6 separate regions of the Homo sapiens genome follow, and all the other regions are linked to region 4. Evidence: promoter capture Hi-C in 16 types of primary human blood cells and fetal thymus (Javierre and others, 2016). All regions are on one chromosome and are shown on one strand. Each heading gives the region's core, a stretch centred on a gene start or on the middle of the fragment in contact. The rest is flanking DNA. Distances are from core to core; before and after follow the strand shown.

Region 1 (2,700 bases), core at 167-2,666, 4.9 Mb before region 4:
TAATTCAGCCAAATCATTCTATAGATGAAGGATCTAGGATCAGAGAAATCTACTGATTTATTTAAGATCAAGCACAAAACTAATTAGTGCAAAACTGGGTCCCTGTATTCCTCACTTCTCTTCATTCCCACAGCCTTATACCAACTCTTATGTTCTACATCCTTCCCTTCCCTTTCATTCCCTTCACCTCCTCTTCCTCTTCTTCATTCTCATTCCTTCCTTCTTTTTCTTCTTCTTTAATGTGGTAGCTAGATTTTAATCACATGGACAAAAGTTGTTTTCAAGAATGAGAAAAAATATGCTAATTCAAATGCAACTCATAAGTAGACCTTCTCCCTTGTCACTGAGAAAGGCTTTTACTTGTACATTCTGTGTCATCAAAACCTTACAATATGTCATAGGGCTTCACTCACTAATTAAGGATTCTGTAAAATATAGGTTGTCATGTGAGGATAGAGCCTGGAATGTGCCATATCTTGAGATAAGAACTTTAGGAAAAATGTCTTCAGTGTATAATACAAAATAACCACGGAAACCACATTCTTCAATGAATGGTCATCTTAACCTTTTATTCACCAGCAGTTTTTAACCTTCTTAGCCTGAAGTCATCCTTTAGAGTTTAGATCATTTTAAAGCATTTTTATTTTATTCATTTAAAAAATCCTGTGGAAGAGGCAGTATAAGGTGTTGACAGCTAAAAAGGCAGTAAGCCAAGGAAAAAAAGCCTGTTGGCTGACGTTTTGAAGGGGATCTGAGCTGTATGCTTCTAACTGCCTTTCTTAGTGGTCTAGTGTTCTTTCTTACTCCTGTGTGATTTATATAACCCTCAATTACTGGGTAGCACCTGTACAGCAGAATCACATGATGTTAGTGCTGGCAAGGGACTAAGAGATCCAACAACCTTCATTTCATTGATGAGCTTCGGAAGGGTGAAATGACATATCCAAGGTCACTTTCTAATTCTTCTCTTGGATTTGATTTCCTTTGGATATAAAGGTAGGTTGTTCTTTACTTTCTGGAAAGATGGAATTTCAATATAAGAAAGATCTTTATGGCAATTTGACCCTGGAGACTTTAAATGGAGCAGGAAATTCCAAATTATGATTCCCACAACAGTTTTAACTTGGCCACGGTCGGCATGATCATTAAGGTACAGTCTGTGGGATTACTACGTTAGCGTGTTTTCTTATAGCTTTAAAAAATTTAATTGAATTTGTATTATGTGTAAGCTTGGTAGGTGCCTTTGTAGGGAAGAATTTTTCTGTCAACCAAACATATTGCTTTAGGAGAAAAACAGAAAGGGCAAAAGTAACTCAAGAGAATCAGGTCTGTTTCAACAAAGGACTCTCCCTGGATATGGGATGCACAGAGCTGAGACTAGGCAGAGTGCCACTGAGCTATTTTGCCAAGCTCATTAAATTCTCTCTTGCCTGCCATAATTACCAACAAGTTAAGAAGGTGTTTTGTCGTCCTCATCTTTCTGAGGCATCGGAGTTGTAGGATTATTCCCCTGCCAAAGTGGCAGTCCTGTCTGCCTTGGTGAAGTTTGACTTTCTACCCATGACTGTGTAGCACTACTTGGAGACAATTGTGAACAATTTTAGAAGCTTGTCAGGGGATTAGAGTTTAAAAAGTCTTGACAAAATCCAGTTGAATGTAGTTAAAGGAAAATATACTGTATCTCCAAATAAAATTAAAAAATTAAAGTTTTAACTTGCATTCTTTTCCTAAAATTGTGTGCGTTCCTTTAATAATCATTTCTTTCCACCCTGTTAATTTACACAAGTGGAAATGGAGGTGTAGAGGCAGCAGGAGTCATGGCCAAGATCAGGAGTGGCAGGGAACAAAACAGAAGCCTACAACCTATCATGTAGCACAGTACTTGGAAATAAAATGGAATTGTTAAAGAATGAATGAATCCAGGTTTACGAATTTCCACTCATTACTTTTTTCATTACACCATGATTACCTGCCCATTGGGTCCCTCCTCTCATTCGCTTATCTCCTCTAGTTTCAGATGACCCCATTTGCATTCTAGCTGACCTGCATTCAAGTTGGGAAACTTGAGTCCTCATTCACCAGGGCAGTCCCAAGATCTGTGTCTTTCCACATGGCTTGAACAGGTGCTTCAATCAGTGTGCTAATTTGGGATTGCTGAGAGCACAAATCCCTATCTACTTGTTTCTTTTACCACGGACATTTTTAATCAAGCATCTAATTTGGTCCTGGGGGACTTCACTCTGCTTTAATAATACATGTGACAAAATTTACCTCTTTGCTTTCAAAGTTGTTAATTATGGAGTGAATTTCAAATGAGCTATTGCAGCTGAGAAATCATCCCTTTTAGTTGCTTATATACTTTAATACTGGAAAGAAGTAAAAAGCCATGAAGGGTTATAAAATACCTCTCCATATGGACAGTAGTGCTTTGGGGGAACCAAACAGGGTAGTCATGAGGACTTTTTGGTGCTGGGCTTATATCAAGTTGTTTTCAGGTTATGCTGCAGACTTTACATGACCCAGAGGGCTTAACCCACTTTCAAAGCAGATGGAAGAAGATCAGATTTAGGGAGGGAGCCCTCAGATAGATGAGTGAGCTAGGTCATTGATCTCTTTAAGGAAGTAGAATCAGTTGCTTCAGGGGAAGACAGGTTCTTTATGCCTTCCAAAGTGAGCATAGCCAATTGCAGGTTGTTCCAG
Region 2 (2,700 bases), core at 146-2,645, 4.9 Mb before region 4:
AGCAAAAATATTACAACTCACTGAAAGCTCAGATGATGGTCGGCATTTTTTTTTTAGCAATAAAGCATTTTAAAAGTAAGGTATGTACGTTGTTATTCTCAGACTTATTGCCATTGCACACTTAACGGACTACAGTACAGTGTAGGCATATAATGGACCTGTTGGAGGAAGTCTTATGAGTATGGCATGATTATTTTCCTAAATCTTTTTAATAGTGATGATTATAAGGCTATTATAAAGTAAGTGCTTTAAAAATCTCACATACTTACATATTTCGCCTGTTGAAATTCATTAGGAAGTGGTTCTGTTTCTACTTCCTTCTTGCTCCCCCTCCCAAGAGCATAACTTCCCATTTTTCCTGAATCTACATATCTGGCCAAATTGAAAGTGCTGCTCATAAAACAAATATGTATAACCAAAGTGAAATAACCTGAGTATAATAATTTTTATCTTCCACGTACATTCATTCTTTTAAACTTCCAAGTCTTATCGAATCATTTCACCTTCTTTGAGACTATTGTGATAACTGGATGGGAATTCAGATATATCCTACCATTCGTATAGACTCAATGCAGAAATCTTCTGATCAACATACTTGTCTTTCTCTTTTGGCGTCACCATCCTTTCTTCTTGTTACAGCCTTCCTTGAGGCACAGAAAGTAGATTTCTAACTTCTCAGGGAAACTTATGATCCAATGAGCTCATTCTGGGTAGTTTCTTCCCTTCAATATTACAAATTTGAAATCATTAGTCACTTTACCATGAAGAGAAGTTAGGGGTGATGATGTTAAGAGGTGAAGATTGGCCTTTATTGGGAGCTTATGTGTGTCAGGTATTTGCAGGGAACTTTATGTGTATGACCACATTTAATCCTCATGCCAAGCATCTCAGTAAGTGTACATGGAATGAATGGATGAACAATGGCACTGAAGTGTTGCCCATTTTCTGTATTAAGAAAAATAATATTTAAAGATGTGACATAACTCCTGAATTTCCAGGCAGCTTATAATTGTTCAGAGCTTGTTCTGACAACAAAAGCTTATATGAGTAACCAAATGGTTATGCTATTCCTTTTCAGTTTTAAGCTTCAAGGGAATGAATATGAATATAGAGATGCTCAGATTTACTGTGGTTGAAGAAATGAGGGGAAAGTGACTGCCCTTCTCATGGGTAAAATAATTAGATTATAGGTGAGGGTTGCTATTAAAAATTCTCTAGCAGAAGGTACCTATGGTCCCATGACTGGCTGTAGAAATTCCTCTCTACAAGGACTTTCATACCTAATCAAAAGAACGCTTTCCCTCATCTCCCAACTTTGAATTCTCTCATCGCCATTTGAGAAAGTTCAGAAGCATATGTTGCTCTTCCATCACACACCAGTAGATGGCAGCAAAAGTCCATCCTTAGCTCCTAAAAGTTTGCCTCTGAGTTCCTGCACAATGCAAAGATAAAGGCAGCTTTTAAAAATATAATAATCTACCTCCTTACCTGACACGTCGGAAGGGCTGATTTTCCAGGTCACACATGTCTTATTACTTTCGAAAATAATCATGTGGAAAGGCTTTTCATTGTGTTTGCTGTTACATTTCTGCACAGTGGTGACTGCGAAGCCAAAATCAAACTAATAGCAGGGGAAAAAAAAAAGTGACAACCCAAGAGAAGTGCATATAATTTCCGTTAAGAATGTTCCTCATGGGTTTTCAAAGAAGCTTTCATCACCAAATCTGATCAGTGAAGCAGTCTTGTTCATAAATAATTTATCAGTCTCTCTTCTCTATCTCATCCTTCCTACCAGTGAAACAAGCAAAATGCAACTTTGGGTGAATTCTCTTTTAAGAATATCTGAGGAGAAACATTTTTCACCAGTCTTCACTGTTAGAAATGTAGCTACAGCATAATGTAAACCATATACAACAAAAGAGGGTTTTTTTGTTGTTATTTAATTGGAATTTTCTTTTTGAAGGCTGTTACCCTTGGCATTTAGCATTTTACGTTAGTATTTATTTGATTTTCAGCCTGTTGCTGGCTAGTTCATCTGGGCAACATGCTTTGGATATTATGGATAATGTACAGTGATTGGCCTGAATTTAAAACAAATTGGTTTCCTGACCTGGAAGAGAGGAACCGTTAGTATAGGCACAGTGTTGCTACTGCCTAACTATTTGACAAGCAAATAACCTCTCCTAGCCTTTGTTTCATTTTTCCCTAAAATGAGGATAAGCGTAGCTTATGGAATTGTTGTGAGGATTATATAAAATTAAATGCATCAATGCAATAAACTTCTAGCTTAGTTATATGCTAAAAATTCGCTGATAACTGAATGTGAATTGAAAGAGAGGAGACTGGTGATAGCTAAGATGACTCCAGTTTTAAGTGTCTGTGATTCTGTTAGTTTCTTTCCACTCAACCCTAGAGTTACTGATATTCATCTTAAGAGGGGAAGACACTTGAAAGATGCTGAGATGAAAATGTTACGAAGGATGAGAGAATTTGCCGTGGAGAAGAGTGGTCTGATTTTTACTACTAAGAAGTGGCTTTAGTTCATCCTTGCCAAAAGTTCATCATCCATAAGTGAGCACTGTTGGAAAAGAAGGAGAAGAATGATACCATGAGGAAGAAGCAAAATATGAAAAACAAAGCCTCTGAAGGAATAAAAAAAAGATACTATCATTTTTTGCACTTGATCCATGGAAAACTGTC
Region 3 (2,700 bases), core at 174-2,673, 4.9 Mb before region 4:
CCTCGACAATGTTATCCACAAGTTGTGAACTCCCTAAGGCAAGAGGTTCTCTGACACTGAATAGGAACTCAGTAAATCTTTGCTGAATGTATAGATCAGTGATAATAAGTGTGGCTAACCTGTATCGAATCATTATTTTTACCTAGTGAAAGCACCGTACTCTTGCCAATTTATTTAATGCTGAGAACAATCTTGGTGCAGGTATCATTATGTGTATCTTACCTTTAAAATATCAAAGACATACCAAGGTTAATTAGTTTGCCCAAGGTCATTCAGCTACCAAGAAGGGAAGCTAATATTTGACCCCCAGTTCTGTATTCCTAAGGCCATATGAGCTGCTTCCCACTGATATGATTTATGTTGAAATCATAGAAGCAGCTGGATAGAAAAAGTTAACTATTAATTAATCATAATTAAGAATAATAACTCATCTGACTAGTACTTTACCACTTCTTTTAATATGTAGCATATTATTCAATTAAAAAGCATAATTTTATTGTATATATATATATATATAACACCTTTCCAATTTGGAGGAATTACCAATAAAATACAAATAAACAACCTTAAATTTCAACATCCAGAGATAACTTTCTTCAAGATTCTTTAAAAAATAGATATCTGGGTGCATATTTTGTTTGTTTTCTCCCTGTATATGTACGTGTGTGTATGTGTGATGCTGTTCATGTTTCTTTAATAATATAGCAAATAATATCAGTAACTTTTCTTCATGTTCACAATATTTCGTGGTATCCCATTTTGTGGTTGTGCCATAAATCATTTCTTTGGCGTTTATATTGACTCATTCACTTTGATCCCTGAGGTTTTTGTTTTCTTGTAGCATTGCACCCATTTTTTTCCCCTAGGGGGCAGTAGCTGAACCATTAGTTGTTCTACATCTGATTACTCCTCAGCTCATTTGCATGAGCCTTTTTCTCATTATAATATTATTAACACAGTCTATGCTCAGGCCACAGTTCAAACGTTGCTGGACCCTCTGCTCAATTAGGTCAAACTCCAACTGGATTACTGACCCTGTCCTCTTGGAGTCAGAGTGCAAACATTCCAAGTTTTCTTCTTTGCTTCTGCACCAGGTACTTGCTGACTTGTACATATTTCTTGGACTTTAATAACTCAACTCATTTTATTTTTTGTCAGTTAAATTGAAACCATTTTTTAATCCATAAAAAATTCTTTTGATGAATAAAGCCTCTCAAAAAATTAGGTTGTTTGCAATGATCACTTAATTTTTCCGCAATACTGTGTGGTCTGTACAGCAGATATTACCATCATCACTCATTGACAGATAAGATTATGAAGTGTCAAGCAAATCAGTGATTTAACCAGTGACATTAGATCCTAATGGCAGTTTCAGAGCCTGAGGACCCAGGACTCCTAACGCCAAATGTGAATGTCTTACCTTTAGTCACATTAGCTCCAATGGTAAGAAATACTATGAATTTCTGAGCTATAGAAAGAAAGCATGGGTATCATTTTTGTTTACTGAATTACATTATGTTCTCAGTTTCAAATTTTAACTGACTTGAGAAGTGGTTAACTGGTTATGACTAAGTACAGAAACTGATATAAATTTTTACTGTGATTCTCCTGTTAATCAGATTTCAATGACATTTCATTGCCTGCCTTCGGGATAAAGTTCAAAGTTTTTGATTTGGCATTTAAGATACTTTACTCTCTGGGTTCAGTCTATCCTTTCTCATTCCATCATTTATTACTTCTTTACAGGAATACATTGTCTCATTTAAACTTCTTTCCTCACTGTAGTCCAAATGCTTCATGGGTTATCTTTACCCTACACAGAACTTTAATGTTTAACCTTTCCCTCATTTACCTACCAATAAATGTCTTACGTAACATAGTTCACAGTTCAAGCTAATTGGCACCTCTCCCATAAAGCCTTTCCTTACCAGTCCAGCTAAAAGAGATCTCTTATTTCCTTAGAATCAGAGAGGATTTAGCATCTCTTGAATGAAATCTTTATGCTGTATTTTCTTAAATAGATTACCTGTATTTAAAATGTTTCATTTATACCTCAAAGGGATCTTACCAATAATCTCTACTTGAGAGAACTGCATTCTTAAAAAATAGTTTTGATTATTTGACTGCTAGGAAATTATAGATGTCAGGGACAACTTTAAATAAAGGGGCAAACAAATGCTTAACATGATTTTCAGAGCTCTAAGTTCATCTTCCTGTCTCAAAATATATCCTTTATCTCCAATGATGTCCGAAATGTCTTGCAGAAGTCGTGGTAGCTATTAAAGATTAAATTATTTTGGAATTTCATTTTATATTTTAGAACAAAATACTTTATGGAGAGGTTCAAGGTAGTTGATTAGATGTAGCTGGGATGCACCTCTTCCATAAAGAGGAGCCAAAACATTGAGTAAAACATACTTCAAACACATCTTTTGAGAGGGAACACTGAAATTCAATAGGGAGGTGATGGAAGACACTGTGATTGAAGAAGGAAAAAACAGGGCTGCCTACTTAACATCGCTGGGTGCCGGGACCAGCCCTCAGACCCAGACCCAGGCCCAAGGAAGGGGTAAGTGAAGGAACCCCAGGATACCACATTCCTGCTGCTGGCCCCTGGGATCCTAGCTACAAGAGAGTTCCACGACCCCCACAGACCTTTGGACTGGCAGAAGGAGCTGCCCAGAGACCATGCAGAGGCAC
Region 4 (2,700 bases), core at 14-2,513:
TTATATTGAAAGATACATGCAACTTCATTTACCCGGCAGAACAATAATTTGTATGGCAAACATATCTCTGTGTCTGGAATTGGTTGGTTCTTGGTCTGACTTCAAGAGTGAAGCCACCACCCTTGCGGTGAGTGTTACAGTTCTTAAAGACGGCGTGTCCAGAGTTTGTTCCTTCTGAAGTTCGGATGTGTTCGGAGTTTCTTCCTTCTGGTGGGTTCGTGGTCTCCCCGGCTCAGGAGTGAAGCTGCACACCTTCCCAGTGTGTGTTACAACTCTTAAGACGGCGCGTCTGGAGTTGTTCCTTTCTCCCGGTGGGTTTGTGGTCTCGGTGGCTTCAGGAGTGAAACTGCAGACCTTCGCAGTGAGTGTTCCAGCTCATAAAGGCAGTGTGGACCCAAAGAATGAGCAGCAGCAAGATTTACTGCAGAGTGAGAGAACAACGCTCCCACAATGCAGAAGGAGACCCCAACGGTTGCCACTGCTAGGTCAGGCAGCCTGCTTTTATTCTCTTATCTGGCCTCATCCACATCCTGCTGATTGGTCCATTTTACAGAGAGCCGATTGGTCTGTTTTACAGAGAGCTGATTGGTCCGTTTTGACAGGGTGCTGATTGGTGCATTTACAATCCCTGAGCTAGACACAAAAGTTCTCCACGTCCCCACTAGATTAGCTAGATACAGAGTGCTGACTGGTGTATTTACAAACCCTCAGCTAGACACAAAGTGCTGATTGGTGCATTTACAAACCTTGAGCTAGATACAGAGTGCCAATTGGTGTATTCACAATCCCTTAACTAGACATAAAGATTCTCAAGTCCCCACTTGACTCAGGAGCCCAGCTGGCTTCACCTGGTGGATCTCCCACTGGGGCCCCAGGTGGAGGTGCTTACCAGCCCCGCGCCGTGCGCCCGCACTCCTCAGCCCTTGGGCGGTTGATGGGACCAGGCGCCTTGGAGCAGGAGGCGGCGTTCGTCCGGGAGACTCAGGCCGCGCAGGAGCCCACGGCGTCGTCGGGGCGGGGAGACTCAGGCATGGCAGGCTACAGGTCCCAAGCCCTGCCCCGCGGGGGAGCAGCTAAGGCCCAGCGAGAAATCGAGCGCAGCGCCGGTGGGCCAGCATTGCTGGGGGAACCGGCGCACCCTCCACAGCTGCTGGCCAGGATGCTAAGCCCCTCACTACCAGGGGCCGGCAGGGCCGGCTGGCCGCTCCGAGTGCGCGGCCCGCCAAGCCCACGCCCACCCGGAACTCTAGCTGGCCCGCAAGCGCAGCACGCAGCCCCGGTTCCCGCCCGTGCCTCTCCCTCCACACCTCCCTGCAGGCTGAGGGAGCCGGCTCCGGTCTCGGCCATCCCAGGAAGGGGCTCCCACAGTGCAGCGGCGGGCTGAAGGGCTCCTCAAGCGTGGCCAGAGTGGGCGCCAAGGCCGAGGAGGCGCCAAGAGGGAGCGAGGGCTGTGAGGACTGACAGCACGCTGTCACCTCGTCTCTACTTAGGTGAATGATGCCTTTGGCCTGCTTATGTCTTCCATAGCCACAATGGTGAGTACTTGTTTTCTACTCAGCTAATAAGAAAATAAGTTTTGGCGGTTTTCTGAGAGCAAAAGTATTTATTGCTTGCCCAAGATAAATCGACCTCTAAAGAGACAGAAACTATTTTAAAACAGTTTTAAAAACAACATTTTTCCGTTTACACAGAAAGTTTTAGTGTCAATTTCACCCCCTCCCCAAATACTATACCCTTTATAAATTATGGGTGTTTGTTTTTGTTTTTGTTTTTTGTTGTTGGTGGTGGTTGGTTGGTTGGTTTGTTTTGTGCCTCTTACTCTTAAAGTATGGTCATTTAGGAAGTCTATGTAATTTTGTGTCCCCTGATTGCCCCCTCTTAGAAAATTGAAATTCTTCAAGGTGGAAGAAACAACATATCTATATTTGTAATCCAAGTATCTAGAGATAACCTGGCTTATAGTAGGTGATCAGTAAAAGTTTGTTGAATAGAACCAAAAAAAGAGGAATATAGATGATACTGATATTAAAAATAAAATAAAAATGACATCCACTGAGTGTTAGGATATCACCGAGGGAAACCCCAGAAGATTATTTAGTATTGATTGACAAAAATTAACATTTCTAAATGATGCTTTGAATTAAGGATTCTTGGTCTATTCATGACAAGTCTTCCAATGTGAATTTATATCTCAAAATATTACATAACCTGTAAAGCTGAATCCATGAATGTGAAGTCCAGCTAAATTTGAGACTGATTCTAAATACAGTGGTAGAGTATGCAGTTTGCTATTGTTGTCTTCTGTCTTTCATAACAAAATAATTTATTTTCTTCCTATATTGGTCAGGAATATCCTGTCAAGAAGGGAGGTTATCTAATTGTTGAAATATCAACATTTTAAAAGAAGACTCCAGAAAAGAGGGTAATGCTAAACATAAAGTCATGTTATGATAATGAAGGTACTTCAGGTGCATTATGGAGCACATGTTGAGAAGGGGTTTTTGGCAAATAATGTCCCTCAATTATAAGACGTGGGCATCACTTGATCACATCAAATGAGTCTATAGTTTAAGCCAGTCATAATTATTATACCTTGTAGCACATGCAAAGATTTATCTCAGCGCTTTTATAGTTTAACCCTATGTATATTAAAGGGCTAGAAACTCAATGTCATCTTTCCGAATAAACTTCCTCATGCGT
Region 5 (2,700 bases), core at 179-2,678, 4.2 Mb before region 4:
AGTCTTGGGAGGGTATATGTGTCCAGGAATTTATCCATCTCTTCTAGGCTTTCTAGTTTGTGTGCATAAAGTTGTACGTAGTAGTTTCTGAGAGTTATTTGTGTTTCTGTGGGGTGGGTGGTAACATCTTCTTTGCTGTTTCAAACTGTGTTTGTTTGGATCTTCTCTCTCTATTTTTATTAGTCTAGCTAGTGGACTATTTCATTAATTTCTTTCAAAAAACCAGTGAAATATTGATCATTTGAATGGTTTTTTTGTGTCTCAATTTCCTTCAGTTCAGTTCTGATATTTATTATTTGTTGTCTTCTGCTAGATTTGGGGTTGATTTGCTCTTGCTTCTCTAATTCTTTCAGTTGTGATGTTAGGCTGCCAATTTGTGATCTTTCTAATTTTTTGATGTGGGCATTTATTGCCATAAATTTCCCTCTGTGCACTGCCTTAGCCGTGTTTCAGATACATTGGTATGTTGTATCTTTGTTCTCGTTAGTTTCAAATAGCCTCTTGATTTCTGCATTTATTTCATTATTTTCCAAGAAGTCATTCAGGAGCACATTGTTTAATATCCATGTGGTCGTATGGTTTTGAGTGATTTTCCTAGTCTTGACTTCTGTTTTTATTGTGCTGTGGTCTGAGAGTGTGTTTGATATAATTTTGGTTCTTTTGCACTTGCTGAGGATTGTTTCATTTCTGACCGTGTTCTTGATTTTACAGTATGTGCTATGTGGCAATGAGAAGAATGTCTATTTTGTTGTTTTGGGAGTGGAGTGTTCTGCAGAGGTCTGTTAGAGCCATTTGGTCCAATGTTTAGTTAAGGTCCTGAATATCTTTGTTAATTTTCTGCTGCAGTGATCTGTCTGATACTGTCAGTGGAGCATTGAAGTCTCCCACTATCACTGTGTGGGAGTCTAAGTCTCCTTTTAGATCTTGCTTTATAAATCTAGGTTCTCCTGTGTTGAGTGCTGTATATGTAGGGTAGTTAGGTCTTCTCATTGAATTGAACCTTTTACCATTATGTAATGGCCTTCTGTGTCTTTTTTGATCTTAGTTGGTTTAAAGTCTGTTTTGTCTGAAATTAGGGTTGCAACCCCTGTTTTTTTTTTCTGTTTTCTTCATTTGCTTGGTAGATTTTCCTCCATCCCTTTATTTTGAGTGTATTGGTGTCACTGCATGTAAGATGGGTCTTTTGATGACTGCATATCATTGGGTCTTTCGTTTTGTTCAGATTGCCGCTCTTTGCTGTTTAAATAGAGCATTTAGCTCATTTACATTCAAGGTTAGTGTTGATATGTGTGGATTTAATCCTGTGATTGCATTTTTAGCTGGTTATTATGCAAGCTTGTTTGCGTAGTTGCTTCATAGTATCACTGGTCTGTGTATTTAACTGTTTTTTCTATTGGCTAGTTAGTCGTTTCTTTCCATATTTAGTGCTCATTTCAAGATCTTTTGTAAAATGGGTCTGGTTGTAATGAGTTCCCTAAGAATTTGCTTATCTGAAAACAGTCTTATTTTTTTTTCATGTAGAAAGCTTCATTTAGTTGTATATGAAATTCTTAGTTGAAAATTTTTCTCTAAGAATGTTGAGTATAGGCCCCCAATCTCTCTTGACTTGGAGGGTTTCTGCTGAGAGGTTTTTTGTTAGCCTGATGGGGTTCCTCTTCAGGTAACCTGCCCTTTCTCTCTAGCTGCCTTTAACATTCTCTTTTTCATTTCAACCTTGGAAAATCTGATGATCATGTGTCTTGGGGTAATCTTACGTAGAATCTTGCAGGAGTTCCTTGCATTTCCTGAATTTGACTATCGGCCTCTATAGTGAGGTTCAGGAAGTTTTTATAAATGATATCCTAAAATATGTTTTCCATGTCGTTTGATTTTTGCCTATCCCTTTTGGGGATGCCAGTGATTTGTACCTTTTCCCTCTTTACATGATCCCATATTTCTCAGAGGATATGTTTTTTCCTTCTCTTTTTCCTTTCCTTTTCTTTTTTTTTTTTTTTCCTGACTGTTTTATTTCAGAGAATCAGTCTTTAAGATCAGAGTCTTACCTTAGCTTGGCCTATTCTGCTGTTAAAACTTGCAATTGCATTATGAAAATCCTGTAGTGTGTTTTTCAGCTTTATCAGATCAGTTAGGTTCTTTTTTCATCCTGGCTACTTCATCTGTCAGCTCCTGTATTATTTTATTGTGATTCTTAGGTTCCTTAGATTGGGTTTTGATGTTCTCTTGAATCCTAATGATTTTCATTCCATATTCTGAATTCTATTCTTGTCATTTCAGCCAGCTTAACCTAAGAACTCTTGTTGGAGTACTGGTACAATGATTTGGAGGACATAAGCCACTCTGGTCCTTGGAGTTGCCAGAGTTCTTGAGTTAGTTCTTTTTCATATCTACATGTAGGTGTTCCTTTAACTGTGATGTAGATTAAGTACAGTTAACAGACTTCTTTTCTGGATGTTTTCACGTAGCTGAGCCTTTGTGCAGTGTTTTTATTTATAGCTGACTTCTTGTCTTTGGTTTCACAGGTTATATTAGTGAGGTATTTTTGGACTTAAAGCTCAGAGGTATGATCCAGTAAGTAGCACTTAGGCATAGTGGCCAGGTAGTTGGCTCTTGCTCAGTCGTGTGGCTCTCATATATTTCTTCACAGTTGCAGTCATGTTCCCTCTCAATGCTCTGCAAGTGTGGGCTCTTCTCCCACTTGAC
Region 6 (2,700 bases), core at 133-2,632, 3.6 Mb before region 4:
CAAATTACTTAATTTACTTCTGAAACGTGCTGCCAATCACAAATTTCCATCCATATATAAAGGGTGGTGATAATGATAATAAAAATGCTAGAAAAGGCCTTTTGCAGGGAAGCAGAGAACCCTCTCTAATGACTCCCATCATTTTGGTGCATCACTATTTAACAAAGATATTGGCCTGTAGTTTTCTTTTTTTTGATGTGTCTTTGTTTGGTATTTATATCAGGGTAATACTGGCCTCATAGAATGAGTTTAGAAGTATTCAAGTATTCCCTTCTCCTCTGTTTTTTGGAATAGTTTGAATAGGATTAGTATTAGTTCTTCTTTATATGTTTGGTAGAATTCAGGGAAGCCACCATGTCCCTGGCTTTTACAGGGAAGCCACCAGGTCCTGAGCCCTTTATTGGGAGACTTTTTATTATGGCTTCCATCTTGCTACTTGTTACTGATCAATTCAGGTTTTGGATGTCTTCAGGGTTCAATTTTGGTAGGTTGTATGTATTTAGGAATTTGTTCATTTCTTCTAGATTTTCCAATTTATTGGCATGTAGTTGCTCATAGTGACCGCTAATAATCATGTGAATTACTGCAGTATTAGTTATAATGTCTCCTTTTTCATTTCTGATTTATTTGTATCTTCTCTTTTTTCTTAGTCTGACAAAAGGTTTGTCAATTTTGTTTAACTTTTTAAAAAACTAACTTCTCTTTCATTGATCTTTTTTATTGTTTTCTTCATCTCAATTTAATTTCTTTTTTGCTCTGATTTTTATTATTTATTTTCTACTTATTTTGGGTTTGGTTTTCTCTTGCTTTTCTAGTTCTTTAAGATGCATCATTAGATTTTTTTTAAGTGTCTCTTCTTTTTTGATGTATGCACATATAAACTTCCCTCATAGTACTAGTTTTGCTGTATCCCATAGATTTAGGTATGTTTTGTTTCCATTATCATTTGTTTCAATAATTTTTTCAATTCCTTCTTAATTTCTTCATTGACTCACTGGTCGTTCAGGAGTATATTATTTAATTTCCATGTATTTTTGTAGTTCAAAAATTCCTCATTATTAATTTATAGTTTTATTCCATTGTGGTCTGAAAAGATGCTTATATTATCTCAAGTTTTTTGAATGTTTTAAGACTTGTTTTGTAACCTAACCTATGACCTGTCCTTGAAGTTTCAGCCATACACCTCAGTTGATAATCTTTTATTCATTTAAATAGACACACTTTGAGTTAGACCTCTGTGTGAGCTAACAAATTAGAAAACGTACACAGAATATTATTTCAAGGAGCACATACCCTTGAAGATACAATTGAGGAAAACAACTAGCTAGGAAAAAGATATTGGCTATAACATATGATTCAAAGTGTATAATGAGCATGTTGTAGGACAAAAATATCTTGGTTTTGGATAGCAGGCCTAACATTAAGGCTGATCCAAGTCAATGAGCCTGCAGCTTGTCCACTTTGCTAATCCCTTTTACATAAAATTAAATAAGAACACAAAATTGTGAATACACAATTTCTGCATCCTCAGAATCTTCAGAATCTTAGAAGGAACTGTGCAAATGGGGAATTCTGGAGCTTAATTCTCATGGTAACTCTACTCTTGCTGTGTAGCAAACACTGCCCTGGATTTCTTGAAATAATTTTCATTCACAAACTCTATTGTATAGTAAGACAGGGGACGCTAGGAATAAATTTTCCTATTTTTTTCTTGTTTGAATAAATGTTAACTCCTCATCTTCACTCCTACCTCTTTTGCCATGCATCTTCTATTAATTCTCCAAATTACGTCCAAATGATCTTTTCATATCCTAATCAAATCTTAGCACTCCCTTGCTTAAAACTTTCTAATGGCTTCCGATTATGCTGTGAACTAAACCCTGAAACTTTACAATGACCCACAAAACCTATGTGATCTGCCCTTTCCAGTCTCTGATCTGAGTCCGTACAATTCATCCACATGGTCTTGGTTCTAGAAACTGGGCCTTCTCTCCTTCCTTCCTTCCTTCCTTCCTTCCCTCTTTCATCCCTTCCTCCTCTCCCCTCCCCTTCCTCCCTTCCTCTCGCTTTCCTCCCCTCCTCTCCCTGCCTCTCCTCTCCTATCCTTCTTTGTTTCTTTCTCTCTCTTTTTTCTTTCTTTTCCTTCCTTCCTTCCTTCCTTCCTTCCTTCCTTCCTTCCTTCCTTCCTTCCTTCCTTCCTTCTTTCCTCCCTCTCTCTCTTCCTCCCTCCCTCCTTTCCTTCTTTTCCTCATTCTTTTTTTCCTTTTCTTTCTTTATTTTCTTCCCTTGAATGTGGCAGAGGTATTATTATTGAAGGGCTTTTGAACTTGTTGGTTCTTCTTTCACCTCTAAGAAGCCACGTATTTTGCATCGTGGCATGGGTGTTTTCTTTTCATCAATTAGATCTCAGCTCAAGTTTTACTTCTTTAGCAACATTTTCTATAACCACACTAATGTTGTCCTCTACCCATCTAGTCACTGGTCACTTGCTGTTTCATTCATGTGTTTCATTTCTTTGTAGCTGGAAATAAAAAAATATATATTTTTAAATTCATGTAACTTTTCTACTTTTTCCCACTGCAATATAAATTTATGAAGGCAAACACTTTGTCTTCTTTTTCCCTGCTATATCTACTGTGCATAGGACACATAGTAGAGGTTAAATGATTGTTTGATAAAAGATTGGATGAATTACATGAA

Evidence for each region. Contacts are between HindIII fragments. The CHiCAGO score rates a contact against its expected background, and 5 or more counts as called.
Region 1: a fragment that was not itself captured here is called in contact with the fragment with the promoter of LINC01148 in region 4 in 1 of 17 cell types (endothelial precursors); the score reaches 5.7 in endothelial precursors.
Region 2: a contact is called between a fragment that was not itself captured here and the fragment with the promoter of LINC01148 in region 4, in 14 of 17 cell types (naive B cells, non-activated CD4 T cells, endothelial precursors and 11 more). The highest score is 52.7, in naive B cells.
Region 3: a fragment that was not itself captured here is called in contact with the fragment with the promoter of LINC01148 in region 4 in 3 of 17 cell types (total B cells, naive B cells and endothelial precursors); the score reaches 12.8 in total B cells.
Region 5: a contact is called between a fragment that was not itself captured here and the fragment with the promoter of LINC01148 in region 4, in 7 of 17 cell types (total B cells, naive B cells, M0 macrophages and 4 more). The highest score is 14.9, in total B cells.
Region 6: a contact is called between a fragment that was not itself captured here and the fragment with the promoter of LINC01148 in region 4, in 2 of 17 cell types (M0 macrophages and M2 macrophages). The highest score is 10.3, in M0 macrophages.

The regions. Positions count from the first base shown.
Region 1 is chr14:81,971,397-81,974,096 of GRCh38, forward strand. The region is part of intron 3 of LOC107984704 (a long non-coding RNA gene); the gene reads left to right. Among named protein-coding and RNA genes, the nearest start is that of LINC02311, 230 kb to the left of the region's middle. The HindIII fragment of the contact is 378 bases long and covers 1,228-1,605 here.
Region 2 is chr14:81,989,077-81,991,776 of GRCh38, forward strand. The region is part of intron 3 of LOC107984704 (a long non-coding RNA gene); the gene reads left to right. Among named protein-coding and RNA genes, the nearest start is that of LINC02311, 250 kb to the left of the region's middle. The HindIII fragment of the contact is 624 bases long and covers 1,084-1,707 here.
Region 3 is chr14:82,008,353-82,011,052 of GRCh38, forward strand. All of the region lies in intron 3 of LOC107984704 (a long non-coding RNA gene), which reads left to right. Among named protein-coding and RNA genes, the nearest start is that of LINC02311, 270 kb to the left of the region's middle. The HindIII fragment of the contact is 6,325 bases long and covers 1-2,700 here.
Region 4 is chr14:86,904,515-86,907,214 of GRCh38, forward strand. LINC01148 (long intergenic non-protein coding RNA 1148) reads left to right here and starts at 1,264. Exons shown (of 5, transcript NR_038445.1): 1 at 1,264-1,535. The HindIII fragment of the contact is 4,593 bases long and covers 1-2,700 here.
Region 5 is chr14:82,703,085-82,705,784 of GRCh38, forward strand. The region is part of intron 5 of LINC02301 (long intergenic non-protein coding RNA 2301); the gene reads left to right. Among named protein-coding and RNA genes, the nearest start is that of LINC02301, 62 kb to the left of the region's middle. The HindIII fragment of the contact is 190 bases long and covers 1,334-1,523 here.
Region 6 is chr14:83,291,985-83,294,684 of GRCh38, forward strand. The region is part of intron 3 of LOC105370601 (a long non-coding RNA gene); the gene reads left to right. Among named protein-coding and RNA genes, the nearest start is that of LINC02305, 620 kb to the right of the region's middle. The HindIII fragment of the contact is 5,486 bases long and covers 1-2,700 here.